Linked DNA regions of Homo sapiens: regions 2, 3, 4, 5, 6 and 7 are each linked to region 1. The links are contacts of gene promoters, found by promoter capture Hi-C in blood cells and fetal thymus (Javierre and others, 2016). All regions are on one chromosome and are shown on one strand. Each heading gives the region's core, a stretch centred on a gene start or on the middle of the fragment in contact. The rest is flanking DNA. Distances are from core to core; before and after follow the strand shown.

Evidence for each region. Contacts are between HindIII fragments. The CHiCAGO score rates a contact against its expected background, and 5 or more counts as called.
Region 2: the fragment with the promoter of TMEM67 here is called in contact with the fragment with the promoter of MTDH in region 1 in 1 of 17 cell types (naive CD8 T cells); the score reaches 6.0 in naive CD8 T cells.
Region 3: a contact is called between a fragment that was not itself captured here and the fragment with the promoter of MTDH in region 1, in 1 of 17 cell types (total CD4 T cells). The highest score is 5.9, in total CD4 T cells.
Region 4: a contact is called between a fragment that was not itself captured here and the fragment with the promoter of MTDH in region 1, in 1 of 17 cell types (fetal thymus). The highest score is 6.7, in fetal thymus.
Region 5: a contact is called between a fragment that was not itself captured here and the fragment with the promoter of MTDH in region 1, in 6 of 17 cell types (total B cells, fetal thymus, naive CD4 T cells and 3 more). The highest score is 11.1, in total B cells.
Region 6: a fragment that was not itself captured here is called in contact with the fragment with the promoter of MTDH in region 1 in 1 of 17 cell types (total B cells); the score reaches 6.6 in total B cells.
Region 7: a fragment that was not itself captured here is called in contact with the fragment with the promoter of MTDH in region 1 in 1 of 17 cell types (fetal thymus); the score reaches 8.3 in fetal thymus.

Annotation. Positions count from the first base shown.
Region 1 is chr8:97,642,683-97,645,478 of GRCh38, reverse strand. MTDH (metadherin) reads right to left here and starts at 1,295. Exons shown (of 12, transcript NM_178812.4): 1 at 592-1,295. The coding sequence starts at 972. RefSeq lists silencers at 166-334, 618-687, 958-1,417, 1,598-1,707 and enhancers at 1-464, 465-1,445. The HindIII fragment of the contact is 3,502 bases long and covers 1-2,080 here.
Region 2 is chr8:93,753,565-93,756,324 of GRCh38, reverse strand. TMEM67 (transmembrane protein 67) reads right to left here and starts at 1,431. Exons shown (of 28, transcript NM_153704.6): 1 at 1,188-1,431; 2 at 459-547. The coding sequence starts at 1,410. The HindIII fragment of the contact is 4,875 bases long and covers 1-2,760 here.
Region 3 is chr8:93,921,434-93,924,133 of GRCh38, reverse strand. PDP1 (pyruvate dehydrogenase phosphatase catalytic subunit 1) reads right to left here. Exons shown (of 2, transcript NM_018444.4): 2 at 1-2,118. The coding sequence starts at 2,074. The coding sequence ends at 461. Among named protein-coding and RNA genes, the nearest start is that of PDP1, 5.9 kb to the right of the region's middle. The HindIII fragment of the contact is 3,370 bases long and covers 1-2,700 here.
Region 4 is chr8:100,945,649-100,948,348 of GRCh38, reverse strand. All of the region lies in intron 2 of YWHAZ (tyrosine 3-monooxygenase/tryptophan 5-monooxygenase activation protein zeta), which reads left to right. Among named protein-coding and RNA genes, the nearest start is that of YWHAZ, 5.0 kb to the left of the region's middle. The HindIII fragment of the contact is 2,056 bases long and covers 325-2,380 here.
Region 5 is chr8:93,736,557-93,739,457 of GRCh38, reverse strand. It overlaps RBM12B (RNA binding motif protein 12B), which reads left to right. Exons shown (of 4, transcript NM_001377960.1): 3 at 2,103-2,151. Among named protein-coding and RNA genes, the nearest start is that of RBM12B-AS1, 2.1 kb to the left of the region's middle. The HindIII fragment of the contact is 2,705 bases long and covers 253-2,901 here.
Region 6 is chr8:93,902,895-93,905,679 of GRCh38, reverse strand. No RefSeq gene overlaps it. Among named protein-coding and RNA genes, the nearest start is that of MIR378D2, 12 kb to the left of the region's middle. The HindIII fragment of the contact is 5,771 bases long and covers 1-2,785 here.
Region 7 is chr8:101,207,710-101,210,416 of GRCh38, reverse strand. No RefSeq gene overlaps it. Among named protein-coding and RNA genes, the nearest start is that of ZNF706, 3.4 kb to the right of the region's middle. The HindIII fragment of the contact is 500 bases long and covers 1,208-1,707 here.

The DNA.
Region 1 (2,796 bases), core at 46-2,545:
CCGGCCTCTGTTGGCCACATTTGCCAGAACAAGAATGGGCAACCATTTCCCTTTAACAGTCCCAACTAAAATGGAAGCGCGTCTAGACCTGGACACCTTTAATCCTGTGTAAGCCCCAGAATTTCTAGGTCACCGCACTTCTTCCACTGCCTACTGTCTCAATGTGACTTGAGATAGACATCTGTCTTCCGAGCGCAGTCTTTATACAACTTCCTAACACCACCTTAAGGTCCCATTACGCTCCACATGCAGCCTACTCTGCAGGCCTCAAGGAAGGATGCTGTGCTTATTCTAGCGGTGACGGTTCCCAAAGATGGCTTGACCTCTGGGCGCCTATCTGAACGGACCCCCAGACCTCCTAACTTCCTTCCTCGAAACTGGGCTTCCCCACTCGTCCTATACTTCCTGAGTTCCCCCCATTCCCCAAATAACATGACCACCTATCACCTCCTCCTCCACTTGGGAGTGCTGCCTCTCGGCTTTCGACTAAGCACTCTTTTCCTTCCCGGCTGGGGCGCGGCCTCCCCCAAGCTCGAGGGTCTCCACGCCCGCCCTTCGCCCGTTCTCTACTGCCGCTCATCCCATACTCACTTTGGGCTTCTCGGACAGTTTCTTCCGGTTCTTCTTCTTCTGTTCCTCGCTCCGGAGATTCTTCAGCAAGGCCAGGTCGTCGGGGGCCGCGGCCGGCACGGCCGCCGCCTCCTCCCGCTTGCGGGGCGGGCTCCTCCGCTTTTTGCGGGCGCCGGCGCAAGCCGCGGCCCAGCCGTAGCCCAGCAGAAACAGCAGCAGCAGCCCGAGCGCGCCAGTGCCCACCAGGATCACCCAGCCGGGGTACCGTTTCGGCTCCAGCCCCAGGTCGAGGCCCAGCTCGGTGCGCAGAAAGCCTAGGCCGACCGAGAGCATTTCCCGCAGCCGGGCCGAGCCCTCCTCGGCCTGCTGGGCCAGCTCGTCCTGCCAGCTCCGTGCAGCCATCTTCCCTCCCGTCAGAGGGACTCGCAGGATGACGCCGGGGCGCGGAGACGCAGTGGAATAGTCGAGGGAAGCGAGGAAGGGCCGGGCCGGGTAACCTCAGGCCGAGCGCATCGCGGCCGTCCCTCGCGCCGGAGCCGGGGATCGGCCGCTGCCACCGCGGGGAGGGCGGAGGGGTCTCCCAGGTTCCCCGCTGTCAGCCTCACTCCGCCGCCGCCAGGAGACCCGGGAGGCGGGAGGGAGTGTCTCCAGTGGCGGCCGCTAAGCGGCGTCTCGGCGCCAGCGCCAGGCCCCGCTGTCCTCCCTCGGCGGAACAATGGCGGCTTGGGCCGCGATCCACGCCGCGCGCGGGGACGACCGTGGGTCACGTGGGCGCCAGTGGGCGGGGCGTGGGCGTCACGTGGGGGCGGGCGGGGTCGGGTGGGGCAAAGGCGTGTCAGGGAAGGTTGGCGGTGGTCGGTTCGGGCCTGGTTAAGACGCGGCGTTGGGGACCCGTTACTGTAGACCAGAAGCTGGGAGGGGTTAATTGGTGGACGCCTTCGCGGGGTGGCTGGTGGCGCAGAGTTAGGAGACGTGGCGCAACGAATGAGTACAGAGGAGGGGCTCCGTGCAAGGCGGGGGCGGGCGGGGGGCGGGTAGGGCTGCAGCGCTAGGAACCGGGTCACCGGGTCTAGGTCAAAGTCGCCCTGGCAGGTATAGGGCTCTTCATGCCTTTTTCTGGAGTGTTATTGAGGTGGAATCGCTTTTTCTCCCTGGTGGCGCCAGTTGGATCCTTCCAGAATGAGCTCAACGGAGTCTGACGCCGAACACTGTTCTTCCGGGACCTAGGTTTAGTTCACAAATTGGGTATTTCTCTCCAGGGTGTTTCTCTCCAGGGCAACTAATACACTGCGTGCCTACCAGTTGCCAGCCTGGCGAGGGCACGTTTGCGTCGTTTGGCTCATTCACTCTTGCTCTCTGTTGTTAGTCCCCAGAATTCAAAAGTTGGAAAGCCCGTGGGCGGCACTATTCTTTTCCTACTAATTTGTAGCTTTAATAACACATAAGGGGAAGCACATTAGATTGTATTTACTTATGGAGGGAGCTTTCTCGTTACGTTTTATTTTAAGCTTTTCTACAACACTGCAAAAGGGGTTTGCAAAAATTCCATTTTTATATGCTATGTTGACCATCTCTGGGATGCAGCTATAGAAGGAAACGAACTGCCTTTTCAAATTTTTTTTTTTTGAGACAAGAGTCTCGCTCTGTCGCCCGGGCTGGAGTGCAGTGGCACTATCTCCGCTCACTGCAAGGTCCGCCTCCTGGGTTCAAGCCATTCTCCTGCCTCAGCCTCCCGAGCAGCTGGGACTATAGGCACCCACCACCACGCCCGGCTAATTTTTTGTATTTTTAGTAGAGACGGGGTTTCACCGTGTTAGCCAGGATGGTCTTGATCTCCTGACCTCGTGATCCGCCCACCTCAGCCTCCCAAAGTGCTGGGATTACAGGCGTGAGCCACCACGCCAGGCCTTCAGGTTTTAATTATAAGGGAAATGCTTGAAGGCTGCCTTAGGGTTTTAAGATTATATTTTGCTATAAGGAAACTCTGTATTTTATCGGTAAATGATCATTAGCGTGTAAGCAACTGTCTTAAGTGAACTAAATACAGGCTTTCTCAAGGAATACAGCAGGGGTAATATTAATAACCACCAAATACCAAAAATGTATTTTGACCTATTTTGCAACAGTGTCGTAATGCATATTGTGATTCATGTGTGGAAGGGAGTTTTGTAAATAATAAATAATAAAAGCATACTACACTTGCCAAGACTTATGATTAAAGACTAA
Region 2 (2,760 bases), core at 182-2,681, 3.9 Mb after region 1:
GCAATTGGTATTTCATGAAATAATTACACCTTAGATATCATTATGAACATCAATAATCATATAAACTGTTGACATGGTAGGTCTAAGACAACTCCACTTGCATCAGTCAAAAGAATATACACATCCCAAATTGCACACATCCCAGACTGCTCTATATATGCCTTATTCATCTAATTTTCTTCATAACCGAGTTATTCTACGAGTAAAAACAAAAACTTAAATTTTTACAGCTTTGTGGTTTTTGGATTTCAGATTTTAAAAGAAATACATTTCTGTTTTCTCCAAGTTTGCATGAAATTTCGCTGATCTCCCAAAACTTACTCTAGTAAAAATAAAATTAGCATAGTAATTTTAAAGTCTGTGGGGAAACATTAAACATTAAATTATATTTTGAAAAATAAAGATATTTAACTTACTACTTTTTACAGGTAAGTTATTTTAAAATAAATTATGCGCACCATGTTTTCTGGGCACTTTTTACAAATAATAGCAGGTCCTCCATTATTAGAGATCATCTGAAATCCTGGTAGACATACACATGAAGTTCCTAAAAAAAAAAAAAAAAAAAAAAAAGCCAATTTTATCCTTGATAAATAAAAATAAAGTTCCCAGATAGTGAAACTTTTAATAAGTCTGAAGATCTTGAGAAGCAGTATAGTGATTAACAGCAGGATTCTGGAGGCAGTACTGCCTGGGTTCAAATCCAGAAATACACTTCTTGAGTTCCAATCGTAGTAATCCTACTCAGTTGCATGACCTTGAACAAGTTACTAAACTCTCTGCCTTGGCTTCCTCTACAATAAAATGGAGAAAAAAAATTGGTACCTACCTCACAGGGTTAGTATGAGTACAAAATTAGTTATTATACGTAGAGGTCTTACACTGGCACACAGCTGGTATTATGCTGCTACCATTTTAAGTGCAAGTATAACTAAACTATTAAACTACTTAACTGCTGCTGGAAATTTTACATTTCTACGTCACTAAACAATATACATGTATTCGGGCCAGGCGCGGTGGCTCACGCCTGTAATCCCAGCACTTTGGGAGGCGGAGGCGGGTGGATCACCTGAGGTCAGAAGTTCGAGACTAGCCTGATCAACATGGTGAAACTCCATTTACGGGGACTAGGGGCCGACCAAGGCGGGAGTGTTACTTTTGCCAGGGCCCACCGCAAACCGTCTTACCTCGGGCATCTTGCCTCTGGTTAGCTCCACAAGGAACACACGAGAGGGCGGAGATATCAAAGTACTGGTTGTTGTCGCACTTCTCCGGCTGCTGGAAAGGGAAAGAGAAGGTCTGGGCCTGTAAGAAGCGAGGGAGGAACAACAGAAGGAACGCGGTCACGGCCCGGGCGGATAAGAGGGACCAAACCGCCATTGCCACCCCAGCCCCACCGCGCGTCGCCATGGTACCGACGCTGGAAGCCTCACAGCCTCCAGCCCCCCATCAGCCTCTGCGGCGGCTTCGCTGAGCTGATTGGACAACCCAAGTCCGGGTACCGGAAGTCACTGCTCGTGTTGCTTGGTTGCTAGGTTACCAACCCTGCGCGAAGTTGGCAGGTCCAGTAAAGAATGGGTTAGAGACCGGTTAACCCTGGAGCCCAGCGATATTTTCAAACGTGTATAGAGTTCCTCTACTTACGATAGGGCTGCCCCCTCCCCGCAATAAACCCATCGTAAGTTGAAAATATCATAATTTGTCGAGTTATAGTTACATCAGAATTTATTCAGACTAGGTAATTTTCACGTTAAAGGAAACATGACTTGTAGTTTAACAATTTGATGTCAAAAAACCCCACTGACTTAAAACCCAGTGAAGGATTACTATAGCTCAAAGACTGAAAAAATAAAAAAACTTTCCTGCCAGGTTTGAGCATAGGAAATCATGTATGCGAGACAAAGTACGAAACGGAAGAAACCATGTTTGCTCATTCTGTTGCCAGCGAAATTTCACAAAGCCCCTGACTCAGTGACTGAACGCAGTCCTCCAGAAGAATGCCCTGAAGACAATAAGTAGGATAGAGCACAAGTTTTCACATCTGTTGCTTGAATCACTTCATTTTTTAAAAAGATACAGTCAGCGATCCTAGCTCTTGCCTCTTCCTGTACGTAAGATAACGTGTGACAGGATTAATGATTATGCCTCTGTAATCTATAACCAGATGTAGTCTCCAAACAAAACTTTGATGAGATTTTGCTCCAACGTAACTTCTGAGCACGTTTAATGTAACTTTTGAGCACATGCAGAACTCCATCCCTTGATGTAGAAACTGGGGGCAGAACAGCTGCTTTGGACCAGTATAACATAAACTCTTTGAAAGACTCTCCAGGGTTGCATTCCTCAGTAAGACTCCGAATAAAACTAACTTTGAGTCTTTAAAAGCCTGATTTTTTTCTTTAGTTGACATGTATATAAAATGAGATCACCTTTACACCTTTTGTGAATAAAGGAATCTAAGCCTGGTGCTGTGGCTCACACCTCTAATCCTAACATTTTGGGAGGCCACAGTGGAAGGATTGTCTGAGCCCAGGAATTCAAGACCAGCCTGGGCAACATAGTGAGACTCCACCTCTACAAATAAAATTTATTTTAATTAGCTGGGTGGGTGGCACATGCCTATGGTCCCGGTTGCTTGGAAGGCTGAGGCGGGAGAACCACTTAAGCCCAGGAGGTCAATGAGCCCAAAGGCTGCAATAAGCTATGATCGTGCCACTGCACTCCAGCCTGGATGTCAGAGACCCTATATAAAAAAAAAAA
Region 3 (2,700 bases), core at 156-2,655, 3.7 Mb after region 1:
TAATGCATAGACTGTGTATCTAGAAAATCATGCAATAAATATATGTTCTCATGTACACTGGAATCTCAGTGAAGAAAGGTGTGAACAGTACTGTTTCTTCACTTTAACCAAGAGACTACACACAGCAAGATACTTGCTTTTGGCCTATTCAAGATCTTATTTGCCAGGTCATCCTAATTTTCTCAGGTTGGTAAAAGAAGCTAATGTTTCAAGACACCTGTGATAAAGAAGTGACTTGCTTCAAGTGCAGGTGCCATGAAATCTGAGCTAGGCAGGACCAGACTCTCCTGACCCTGCCACCCTGCTGCAAAGTCAATTTGGAGTACCTGACTAGCTAGAGTATCAAAAGGGTAAATGCTTAGAATGACCAACTGGAAATGTTTATTATAGTAGTATCTTTTTAAAAAATCTGCCCTTTAAATGTATATCATTTGAGAATTGCCAGTGAAAGAGCCACTCACTATTCTTGGTTTTGATACGCCCCTACAACATGAGAATTGAACTGAACTACAATGATTGTAATGTCATCTCTGTACATTCGAGCAAGCTCTTCAGGAAGACTAAGCATTTTAGAGAGGCGCTCATGATCAACAGTCCCAAACTCGTTGTTGCCCACAGCGTGGCGAATGAGATGGGTTGCTGCGTTCTGATCCTCAAATACCGAGGACATTTTGGTTCTCCTTTCTGTTAAAAGGCCATGCATCTGTCCCAGAGTCACCTTGTAGCCACCAACAGCTATTGGCTGTTGGTGATGCATGCCAGTTAGGTACTCACCCACAATCCTAACCACATCCTGCCTATGCATAGTCTCCCACAACCCATCAGTAGCCAACACCAGAAACTTATCCTGTGGCCTTAATCGGTGGTAAGTTACCTCTGGCTCAGCAGTGAGATAAGGAGGTGTGTGATAATTAGGAGGAATAAACTTGGTATATTCATTGTCATTCAACTGGTCTGGGCCAGATTCTATCACTCTCTTTTGAAGGTCAATGCTCCATTTGAACTTTACATCTCCAAATGCCCTAAATGGCATCAGCAAGCCAAGCAGCCGATCCTGTTTCACGACACTCTTGGCCTCACTCTTTGGATGTTCCAATTTCAGCCGTTCTAGTTCTCTTTCATTTTGAGCATTGTGGTCATTAGACAGCGTGACTGCTGACCATGAGCCGTCCTCTTCCTGCACACCCAGCATGGCTCTGCTATCGCCAGTATTGGCCACATGAAGGTCAACACCATCCACATGGGCCACACAAGCAGTGGCTCCAGAAAATGCCACTCGAAGCACCAGGTAGTTGAGAAAAGAATTAGGATCACCAACTTGCGCCTCCAAGGAGATGTCATTATCAAGCCTCTTGAAGGCATTAATTAGAGCCTCCTTAACATCAATATCAGTCGACTCACCAGTGTTGAGGTCTATAAGCTCTTGCCAGTAAGTCCTCAAGCTGTTAAAGTACAATTTGGATGCCTCCTTACTAAAGTAATCATTGGGGTGCTTGTGCCACTGGAGAATGGGTAGCAGTGCCCGGCCGCTCTCCACTGCATTTTCAATCTCTAGCAAAGTCTCATGGGGTAACAAAGAGACAGCAATATAATAAAAGAGTCTTTCACTGACTGCCTGGGAACAAGCACAACCTGCATGGCCATCAAAAACCCCCAAAAGCATCCCTCTGGTCTGCAAGCAGGTTGCTGCACTTCTCCGGTCCTCAATGGGTGCATTTGCAGGCAGCTGATTGCTGTCAAATCCAAGGATAGAACTGACATTTTTGCCGTCAAATTCTGGCACTTTGAAACTGTATTCATTAGCTTTAAGGATGCTATTGACTTGTGGAGGTGTGAGGTAAAATTTCTGTGGTGTGGAAGCATATCTCCTTCCTTGGGTGTACTGCCACCAGTTCTCCTTTGGCCTGCAAAAGGTAGCATATGCTGGATGAGGTGTGTATCTCAGTCGACTCTGAGGAATGTACGATGAGGAACAACAGAGATGTTTGTGGTGGCAGTAACATGCAGTGCCATAGATCCTGCTCAGTTCACAGTTACGGATGAGAGGAAAAAACAGTTGAGTTGGTGCTGGCATGGCATCAGAGAACAGTGGCAGGCTGGAACTTCTGACTGGGATTCCTAGACAGCAAATTAGACAGATGTACACAAAGGAAAGAGTTACATTTCAGGATACTTAATCTAGCTTTGCCTTTATAACAAATATTAAGCAAGTCAATCTACATGTTAAGCCTTTGCTAGAAGGTACTACATTTTATACACACATCATGTACTATTTCTACAGGGTATATTCTGGCAGGCACAACTCCCAATCATTCGTGGAACCACGACTGAACTCCTGGCTCCTATACTCAAACTTCAATTTTCTCTTTTCTTTGTCGTCCTTTGTGCAGTACAAACTGTGCAGAATGTACAACAGATTTGGCTGGGGAAAGCTGAGGAGATGAAGGTTATATAACATTATGCAGTAGCCGTCTACCTGACCAATCATCCTTCTCCCTCCCTATTCTTAAAAAATGCCTTGAAATCTCCCATTTTACACAGGGACTTCTTCCATTTATGAAGACCCTTTACATAGACCTGTGGTCAATTTTTGGCATGATTACACATGGCTATGACCAAAAATGTTAAGAGGCAGCCAAACATATGTGTATTTATGAATTACGTGTACATCATATACATATATGACTACAGTAATATGCA
Region 4 (2,700 bases), core at 103-2,602, 3.3 Mb before region 1:
TTTTATATTAATTGAAAATATAAACTAATTGTGTTACTGTTTTACTTATGGTTAGAATATTTGTAGTAGCTCTATAGCTGGTTATCTTAAATGTACATCTGTGGATAAAGGAATTTTACATACTTTAGGTAAGAGAGATGTAATAGGATACTCATTGTAGAAATAGTACTCTTCTCAGGATTAGCCGCTATAATGTTAATGTAATGAGTCAACCATGCAGAAAACTCTGGCGTCACAACTATGAAACCTCTTCCTGCATTGAATTCTTGAAGGTAAATTTTGAACACTCACAACCATGATGAAAGGTTATGAACAACTCAAGCTTGATTTTCCAGTTTGAATCGAGTATTTTAAGTATTCAGTACTTACTGTGTTGAAGCACTGCGCTTAAAAGAATTAAACTACATTTTGGTTAATTTTAATCTGTCATATAAAGTAGGGCTTTTTGATCAAGAATAGTTTAAATTTGAGGATAAACCAGTAGAGAATCCAACCAAGCTGGCAGTTTTTGGAATAATATTTAAAGTGGTTTTACTAAATGGTTACACTTAACCAGTATGGAAGGGCTCTGATATACAAAGAGGGGCAGCATCTCGATTTTTCTGGACAGATTACTGAATCTGGAACTCAGTATGGAAATCCAGGTTTGTTACTTACTATATGAACCTTGTTTATGGAAGAAGTGCTATAATGAGCAATAGGATAATGTCTGATGTGGTTGTGGGTTTGGGGTTTTTGTTAAAGTTGTGATGATACTATCATTTCTTTACATTTGTATTTACTAATGGAATAGCATCAGTTCCTAAACTGTAATTTTCTCAAATGATACTTACTTGACACTGTCTTTTTAAAGAATAGTGATTTTTTAAACATGCTTATTTGGGTTCACAGCCACAAACTCAATGAGGCATCTGTCTTGGGGCATTTTTTTGTTCTTTGCTTATTGAAACCTTTAGAATGATAGCTACTATTTGTATCTAAGTTGAAAAAAGGAATATCTTGCTTTTATTGGGGCCAAGTGACAAATGTCTGTTTTGTGATTTTGCTAAGGTAATAAGAATATTTAAATTTTGTTTTTTGTTTTTTTTTTTTTTTGAGACGGAGTCTTGCTCTGTTGCCCAGGCTGGAGTGCAGTGGCGCGATCTCGGCTCACTGCAAGCTCCGCCTCCCGGGTTCACGCCATTCTCCTGCCTCAGCCTCCCGAATAGCTGAGACTACAGGCGCCTGCCACTGCGCCCGGCTAATTTTTTTGTATTTTTAGTAGAGACGGGGTTTCACCATGTTAGCCAGGATGGTCTCGATCTCCTGACCTCGTGATCCGCCCTCCTCAGCCTCCCAAAGTGCTGGGATTACAGGCTTGAGCCACCGCGCCCGGCCAAATATTTAAATTTTGAAAATGTGATTTTTTTTTTCTATAATAAAAAATGTATTGGGTTTTTTTGTTTTTTTTGTTTTTTTTTTTTGCTCACCTTACTAACTAATATCTGTGTATGTGTAATTCAGTTTTGTTCAGTCTGGAGTGTTTTTCCCAATTATTACACCTGATCGAAAAGTTTTTATTTTGGCTTCAAAGGGTGTGTTACACATTAACATTTCCCTTAAGACAAAAGTCAATTTTAGGAATAAAAAGGAATGTAACATTTACCTTTTACTAACACGCTTATTTGCAATACCAGGTAGGTATGTGCATGTTTTCCATATACAAAGTATAAAAGTTCCTGTCATTGTGAGTCTTTTCCAAGGAAAAGACTTGTAGCAGGTTTGTTTTTTGTGTATGTTTGTTTGTTTGTTTGTTTTGAGACTGAGTTTTGCTCTTGTCACCCAGGCTGGAGTGCAATGGCACCATCTCAGCTCACTGCAACTTCCGCCTCCCGTGTTCAAGCAATTCTTCTGCCTTGACCTCCCGAGTAGCTGGGATTACTGGGCGTGCACCAGCACGCCCAGCTAATTTTTGTACTTTTAGTAAAGATGGGGTTTCACCTTGTCGGCCAGGCTGGTGACCAGGTCACGTCTAACTCTTGACCTCAGGTGATCCACTCGCCTTGGCCTCCCAAAGTGCTGGGATTACAGGAGTGAGCCACCACGTCCAGCCCAACTTGTAGCAGTTTTGACTATGCTTCCCTTTAGTTTCCTTATGAAGAAACTTTGTTTGCATAGAACCAGTAGATGAGGATAACAAGATAATCTCTTCATATAAATAGTTTCTTCTTGTTATGATTATTAAGGAAGTTCACTCTGGTCCCTACCCACATCGTTACCCTCCAGAATAGCACTGGCTTCCCAAAAAGTTTTAATGGTATTTACACTTTGAAAGTTTGGATAAATGAGAGTTTAATTTCTTTACTATACAAATGGCTTTGAAGAGAATTCTAAACAAGCTTTTGCTTCCAGCCTTGGTCTTTTCAGGAGTAAGACTTAGTGATCTTTGCATACTCAACGTGTAATAGATGCTCAAATATTTGTTAAACAAGCAGAAAGGCTTCTTTAGAGAAAGAGCATAGAATTAGGTCAGCAGCACTGCAAAATTTCCCTAGCTTTTTCTTTTTCTGCTTGGGAAAATTTGATATTTACCGATAATAGGCTTCTTTTTCCTACCATCTTTTTCAAATAGGTCACATCGACTCTGGAAACATATTGCATAAAATTCCTTCTGCCCTTTCTGTGAGATGGAAGAATAAAATGTAGCAGAACTGATATTTC
Region 5 (2,901 bases), core at 356-2,855, 3.9 Mb after region 1:
AAGTTTAAGCATTAGTTTTGTTTAACTGTGGCAAATGAGAATAAACTTTCTAAATAGTCTGCTTGAATTGGAATTCATGAGATTTGTGCTCATGAAACTACTTGGTTAAAAGATAGTTTTTAAGTGAGGTAGGATAAATTACTAGAGTTTTTTTGAATTTGAGATATAATTATTCCTTGAAACGTCTCTAATTTCTCTTGTAGATGAATTTATGTTCCCAGGGTAAATCCCGTTAAAATTTTTTTAAAAGCTTAGGAGAGACAAGAATATGTATAGCTTATGGTGCTTTCTAAAATATCTTAAAAAGAGTAGCTAAGCCAATTTGCATAGGAGGGAGTCTTGGGACTTTAATATGGATAAAGTAAGTATTCCAGAAGCCATTTGTAGTTTTTGTTGAAGTGTTAGTATGGATATTGGTTTGTTGAAGAAAATAGGCTTTTTTTCTTTTTTTGTTACTGTGCAAATACTTTAATAGCAAACCTGATTAATATTTTTCAGATGTAGAATGTGTGAAGTAATTTGATGTCTTTGCTAGTTTAGCTTCTGGTTAATCTACGTACCCTTTTTTAAAGGAAAACAGACCTCAGTGAATGTATCTTCAGACCCCCACTTTGGGGAACAGTGGTACTTAAGTGTAAGTACTGGATTCTGGATTAACGCAACATTTATTTGTACATTAAAGACATGTAAATTACTCCAGGCGCAGTGGCTCATACCTGTAAATCCTAGCACTGTGGGAGGCTGAGGTGAGCTGATTGCTTGAGCCCATGAGTTCCCTACCAGCCTGGGCAACATGGTGAAACCCTGGCTCTACAAAAAATACAAAAATTAGCCGGGTGTGGTGGTGCACACCTGTAGTCCCAGCTACTGGGGAGGCTGAGGTGGGAGCATTGCCTGAGCCTGGGTAAGTCGAGGCTGTAGTGAGCCAAGATCGCACCAGTGCACTCCAGCCTGGGTAGCAGAGCAAGAGAGACCCTGTCTCCCCCACCAAAGAAAGTGAGTGTAAATTATAATTATTTATTTGGCAAGTCTTCATGAAATAGTTTGGGTATCCCTGAAAGTATTAAACGCAAACTTCTTTAAAAAATTACATTGAGATTTTTCAGTAAACGGGTAATCCCAGTATTCCAAGTTAATTTTTAATTTTACTTTTCTACATCATCATTTGGGTTTCCTTAGTAGAGTGCAGAATAGTTGTTTGAAATGGAAATCTGCTATTGGCATTATTAATAAGATAAATAGCATTTTCTGTTTGGCTTGAGATGAATTGTAACAGTTACTATTTTTGCAATAGGAGTGGTATTGAGATTTTTAACTTTAGGGATATTGTAGTATTTGCCTTAATTATACTGGCTTCATGAAATTTGGTTCTGTGCTTGGATGTATGAGCTGTTTATATAGACCTTTAAATTGTATCCAAACAATAGCCCATAGGTTTGGATTTATTGTTTTAAAAATTGATTTTTGAATTTCAGGCTTTGCTGTTTTATTCATTTATTGTGTAATTTTGAATGGTTGCCTTAATTTGATTTGGTCTTATGTTTTGAAAGGGAGGAGAACAGCACGAGAGTTGGATATAAATATGTACTAGATTTTTGGATTTTCATGTGGCAAAATGATTGAAGTTCTTTTTTTTTTTTTTTTTTTTTTGAACTTTGGGTATTGAGATTTTACTTGTAGAACAGTTTTTTGAAGTAGATGTAAAACTTGTGTACAGCAAAATGTATAGACCCTAAGGATAGAATTCAGTAAACCTTGATAAATTTATACACCCATGTAACTACTGCTGCATTCAAAATATGTAACATTTCCATCACTCCTTTCTTCGTGCTACTTCCAATCAAGAGCAGTTGTTAAATTTTCGGCAAGTTTCAAATTTTTAAATAATTTTTATATGTCTATTTGGATATTGTATCTCCTTTTTGCAGAAGGATGATTAATTTCCCCTTGGAACAAAAGACCATTTTGTAACACCCGTAATTGTGGTTCCTTATTCTGCTTCACTTTTGATAGGTAATTCTGAAATGGATATCCTACTCTGGCGTTGTTTAAGATAAATTACAGGGTTCAAGGATTAATTATATTTCATTTTCTTTCCACAGTTAAGTTGCTTTTACAGAGTTAACAGGTCTCCAAGAAATTTTAAAAAAGGTAAGATATCCAGAGTTTAAGGCTTTGAGGCTCAACAAAAAACATGTGAAGTAGAATAGTACATCTAGGTATCCATGGCTTCTGTTCTTTTTTTTTTAAAAAGACAGGGCCTCACTCTGTCCTCCAGGCTGGAGTGCAATGGCACAGTTGCAGCCCATTGTATCCTGAAAATTTCAAATTGGGCTCAGGCAGTCTTCCTGCCTCAGCCTCCTGAGTAGCTGGGACTACAGGTGCATGCCACCATGCCCGGCTAATTTTTTCTTTTTAGAGACGGGCTCTCGCTCTGTTGCCAAGGCTGGTCTTGAACTCCTGGCCTCAAGCGATCCTCTTGCCTTGGCCTTGCAAAGCCTGGAATTACAGGCATGAGCTATCATGCTGGCCCTGGCTTTTGTTCTCTGTGTCTGGCCAGTGGTAGGCAATTTATTATCATGAGCAGAAATTATATACTAACCATAGATGACTTTTCTAAATATGTAAAATTCATTGCAGTTGATAAAATAATCTACAAAGCTCTCATGTTTCAGTAGAAGATAAGATTCTAAATGAGTCTGAAAGTAGTTTGGTCTTGTGAAGCAGCATTTGGCAGACTTACAAAGGAAGATTTGATATTTTTGATGTTCCTATTGTATAGAATAGGTGATACGAAATGTTTCTTCAAGGTAGTTGGTTTATTTGTATTTTTAGATGGGAGAAAGTTTATCCCTTGTTTTCTTTAATAATTAGATATGATCAGTATTTTTGTGAACTTGT
Region 6 (2,785 bases), core at 259-2,758, 3.7 Mb after region 1:
CATGGGCCTTTCTATAGGGCTGCTCACAACATGGCAGCTGGCTTTCCCCAGAGTGAGTAATCAGAGAGACAGACAATGAGAGAGAGAGACAAAGACGGAAGCTACAGCATCTTTTACAACAATCTTGGAAGTGACATACAATTACTTCTGTACCCTGGTAAAATTTGAGAAAGCATTCCACAGGGGTATGAATTCCAGCAGAAATCACTGGAGGCCATCTTGGAGGCTGCCAACCACAGTGAGTACATGACATAGCGGAACCTACATGATGCTGCTTTTGCAGAAGTGTTGGATTAGAAGAGCCTCAAGTTTGGTTCTCAGAGCTGTTCCCATTCCTTTCATCTTGAAAAGTAGGGAAATAAGCACCAGCAAGTGCTGATGTTCTGGGTTTCTAGTTTTGTTCCTCTGACCCTGGTTACAATTGCCAGTGCTGCCACAGTTTCATCCATAAAGTTTTGTGTAGCCTCACATCTCCGTTTAATCACTACTAAAAGTAAGTCCAAATTTGAACCTCCAGTCAACACTAAACAACTGAATGTTTGGATACCACTAAGGAGTTAAAATAATAGCTAATGGACCAGGTACAGTGGTTCATGCCTGTAATCCCAGCACTTTGGGGGGCCAAGGTAGGGAGATGCCTTGAGTCCAGGAGTCTGAAACTTCAATGAGCTATGATCATACCACTGTACTCCAGCCTGGGTGACAGAGCAAGACTCTATCTCTTAAAAAAAATAAAAAATAAAAAATAACATAACACTATGTATGCTTACATTCTCTGAATTTAGTAGTGTATGAAATGATTGATTATAATTTTATTCCTTGTACTTTTTATGTTCATGGGAAATGTATGCATATAGAGGATACAAGTTTTTGGTGATTCCACCCCCCATGAGGGGAAATTGTCAATGTAATGAGAAAATCCATAAGGATTTTTTACTGCATTGCTGAACTGTAGCCAGATTTTGTCAGGGAAATAAGAACTTATTGTTTTCCTAGTTTCAGGGAACTGCTGGCTCAGTGTTCAGTTTTCATTCCACAAATCCATGACTCACGAATAAATGACCTGGATAAATGAACACTGAGGATCTCAGTTGCAGCTGGCAATTACCCTACCTTTTGATGGCACTTATTCTATTCTGCATCTGGAAATTCCATTTCCACTTGAAGTATGTATAAATGGATGTCACCCTTAAGGTTTAAACACAACCCCTATTACTTAGCCAAGACTGTTCTGAACAATGGTGTTTACTAATTAGCTCAATTTCAATTTCAGTTTCAGTTCTTGAGCCATTACTATGTGCCTGTGGTATTTTAATGTTCTTATAACTTTCTTTACATCTTGGGGCTTCCCTTCAGGGCCTGTTGTGGTATGCCAGTTTGCAAAAAAGGTGATCAGTTTTGTCTAGGGAGAGAAACTTCTCTTTACATTTGACTTAGTTATATGCAAACTAATTGGATAAACACTCTTTGAATGTTTGTGTTCTAGGGTTTTTGCTGTGTTCTGCAAATGGAGAAAAGCGTAAGACATAGTCTTTATGCCTTTAAAAATTTGGCCGGGCATGGTGCCTCACGCTTATAATCCCAGCACTTTGGGAGGCCAAGGTAGGCGGATCACTTGAGGACAGGAGTTCAAGACCAGCCTGGCCAACATGATGAAACCCTGTCTCTACTAAAAATACAAAACAATTAGCCAGGCATGGTGGTGGGTGCGTATAATCCCAGCTACTCAGGAGGCTGAGGGAGGAGAATCGCTCTAACCAAGGAGACGGAAGGTGCAGTGAGCCAAGATCATGCCATTGCAATCCAGCCTGGGTAACAAGAGTGAAACTCTGTCTCAAAAAAAAAAAAGCAGGCTTTTTTTTTTTTTTTATTTCTTGCAAATTAATTTCCCCTTAACTCAGATGTGGTGAAGCCACTGACAAGCAAATTGCAGGAACTCCTTTATATAGGAGTGTGTCTCTTCCAACTCCAGCTTAAATGTAATCGTTTATAACACGGCTCCTAACTTTTTGGATTTCAAAGACCCGCCTTGGCCTCCCAAAGTGCTGGGATTACAGGCGTGAGCCACCACACCTAGCCTATGCTTGCTTTTTAAAACTGGTTTTCGATGCTTTTCTTGTATGTGTCTGGGGGAGTGGGGGCCAAGGTGAGTAGTAGGAAAGAAAACTTGTACCCACAGTGGTAGAGAATGTGAACTGTAGTTGTGGAAAGCAGCTGTTGCCTACATGGAAATGAAACTGGTTTGGGAAGGATTCCCTCCGCATAAAATCTTAAACAGTTTAGGTAAAATTAGGCCTGATGAATGTAAACCTTCTACTTATTTCTAGGTGTTAGGCTAAAAAATAAAAAGGACCTTTGTATATATGGGTCTTTTTTCCCCTCTGATATTTTGCAAGGGAAGGAGAGAAGGGACAAGCCATTGGATTCGTGTGTCTAAGCAAGTCAGCAGTAATAGAATATTTAACTTGGCCATGATGAAGGCTGACTGCCCAGTGTTCTTCATTCAATGCACCTACAATAGCAGAGCTTTTCATGGATTTGCACATAAATGCCTCTCTGGAATTGAACTATATCCATACTTTTCTGGAATGTGTCATCTTTGAAGTGCGATTCAAGGAGAACCACAAAGATGATAAAAGGACTAAATAATCAAAAAATTCTTATGAAGAGTATAGGGATTCCTCTATCTGAACTCTGAGGCAGTAATCTAACAGGAGTTTATCTGTCCTGGGTTTCTCCCAACATAAGCATTTTAAGAAATGATCAAAGATTTCCTTGAAAACTT
Region 7 (2,707 bases), core at 208-2,707, 3.6 Mb before region 1:
AAATTCTTCACCTCCTCTCCAATACTTGTTATCATCTGTCTTTTCGATTACAGCCATCCCAGTGCGTGTGAAGTATAATACTATCTCATATTTTGATTTGCATTCTTTGATGACTAAGAATGGTGAGCATTTTTTCATGTGCTTATTAGCCATTTGGGCATCTTGTTTGGAGAAGTAGCTAATCAGATCCGTCACCTATTTTTTAATTGGGTATTTGCTTTCTTAGTATGAAGTTGTAAGCATTCTTTATATATTCTAGATAGAAGTCATTTATCAGATATATAATTTGCAAACATATTCTCCCATTCTGTAGGTGGTCTTTTTTTTTTTTAATGGCATCTTTTGAAGCACAAAGTATCTTAATTTTGATGAAGTTCAATTTATCTGTTTTTTTTCTTTTGTCACTAATGCTTTTGATGTCATACCTTAAAAAGCCTTTTTTGGCCTGGCACAGTGGCTCATGCCTATAATCCCAGCACTTTGGGAGGCTGATGCAGGTGGATCACCTGAGGTGAATCACGAGGTCAACAGATCAAGACCATCCTGGCCAACATGGTGAAACCCCATCTCTACTAAAAATACAAAAATTAGCTGGGCATGGTGGCGTGTGCCTGTAGTCCCAGCTACTCGGGAGGCTGAGGCAGGAGAATCTCTTGAACCCGGGAGGTGGAGGTTGCAGTGAGCCAAGATTGCGCCACTGCACCCCAGCATGGCGACAAAGCAAGGCTCTGTCTCAAAAAAAAAAAAAAAAAAAAAAAAAAGCTTTTTTAACCCGTGGTCATACATATTTACTCCTATGTTTTCTCCTAGGACTTTTATGTTTTAGCACTTACATTTAGGTCTTCTATCCATTTTGAGTTAATTTTTGTATATGGTATGAGGATAGGATTCAACTTTATTCTTTTACATGTGGATATCTAGCTATCCCAGTAATATTTGCTGAAGACTCCTTGCCCCATTGAATTTGTTTGGTGCCTGTGTTGAAAATCAATTGACTATACATATGAAGGTTTATTTTTAGACTCTCAATCCTACCTCATTGATTTATATGTCTAATCTTATTCCAGTACCACACTGTTTTAATTACTATAGCTTTGTAATAAGTTTTTAAATTGGGAAATGTGAATCTTCCAATTTTATTCTTTTTTCAAGGTTGTTTTGGCTATTCTGGGCTCCTTGAATTTCCATATAAATTTTAGAATAAGCTTATGTAAAGATACCAGACAGGATTTTGATAGGGGTTGCACCGAATCTGTGGATCAACTTGGGAATTACTGCCATCTTTACAAAGTGTTCTGATCCATGAACATAAGATACCTTTCCATTTATTTAGGTCTTTAATTTCTTTCAACAATGTTATTTAGAGTTTAGAATACAAGTTTTGCACTTCTCTTGGTAAGTTAATTCCTAAGTATTTTATTCTTTTTGGTGCTATTCTAGTAAATCACATTATTTTTTAAGCCTATTTTTAAAGTCTCTGAAATCAAGATGTATCTTAGAATCAAGGATATCAGCATTTTGTCATAGTTCAGTTGGCAGTATTTTTTAATCTTAGTGGACATAAATGTGACTTACAATTAATGGCTCCTTAGACTCAATACAATATGCTATTAAATGTGAATGTCTATAAGACATCAGAGGGGAGATGAGTAGTAGGCATTTGGATATGTCAATTTGGAGATAGAAATGTGGGGGTCACCTGAAGCTTGCTATTTAAAGGCACAACAGTGAATGAGATTCCTTTGGAGAAAGAATATAAAGAAGACAAGAAGATCTAGGTTGCATGTGTGAGAAATCTCAACATGCAGAAGCGAGTGAAAGAGAAAGAGCTGGTAAAAAATAAATAAATAAAAATAAATCCATTTCTGTTCTAAGTTTATTGTTGCCATTATTGCTGTTGCTATTATTTGCCACTAAACATTTGTCAGAATAGTCTGTTTATTGGGAAAATAATATGTTGATTAATCACCAATTCTTTCATCCCCCCAAATCCTACATGAATACAAATAAACAAATAAGCCTTTCAGGTCTTTAGAGAAGCATTTTAATCTGATTGAGATTTTGGATAGAAAATAGGCACATGTTTATTGCATCTTAACCTTGGGTAATTGTCTAAAGGCAGAAGAAGAAAAACAGTCAGGAGAGTTACTGTAGCATTCACAATTAAAGCCAGCAATGTGTATAAAAATGCTTCTAAGGAGTTCATATCACATTTGCTGTCACATTTCTATAACATAAGTAGGACACCAGCTGGTAGTAATGCTAATTCATCCGCCTTTCATTTACTGAGTGTCACTTCACAGATGTTGAATCTTATCCATTCCTTGTTTCTTTTTTTTTTTTTTTTTTTCAAATTCCCTAACCATCACATAAAGTTACCATTATGCCATATCCTCTAGGCAGTGGTTCTGAATCAGGGGAGACTTTGACCCCCTGAGAACATTTCACAATGTCTGGAGACATTTTTAGTTGTCACAACTGGAGATGAGGTGCTACTTGGATAAGCAGGTAGGAGACAGGGATGTTGCTAAACATCCTACAATCCCCAGGTCTCACAGAGCCCCATAATAAAGAATCATCCAGCCCAAATTTCAACGGTGCTGAGATTAAGAAACACTACCTATGAGGATAAGTTACATGATAAGTACATGAACTTTCTGGGGGCAAAGTCAATAGCTTTCACCAAATTCTCAAAGGAGTTATGACT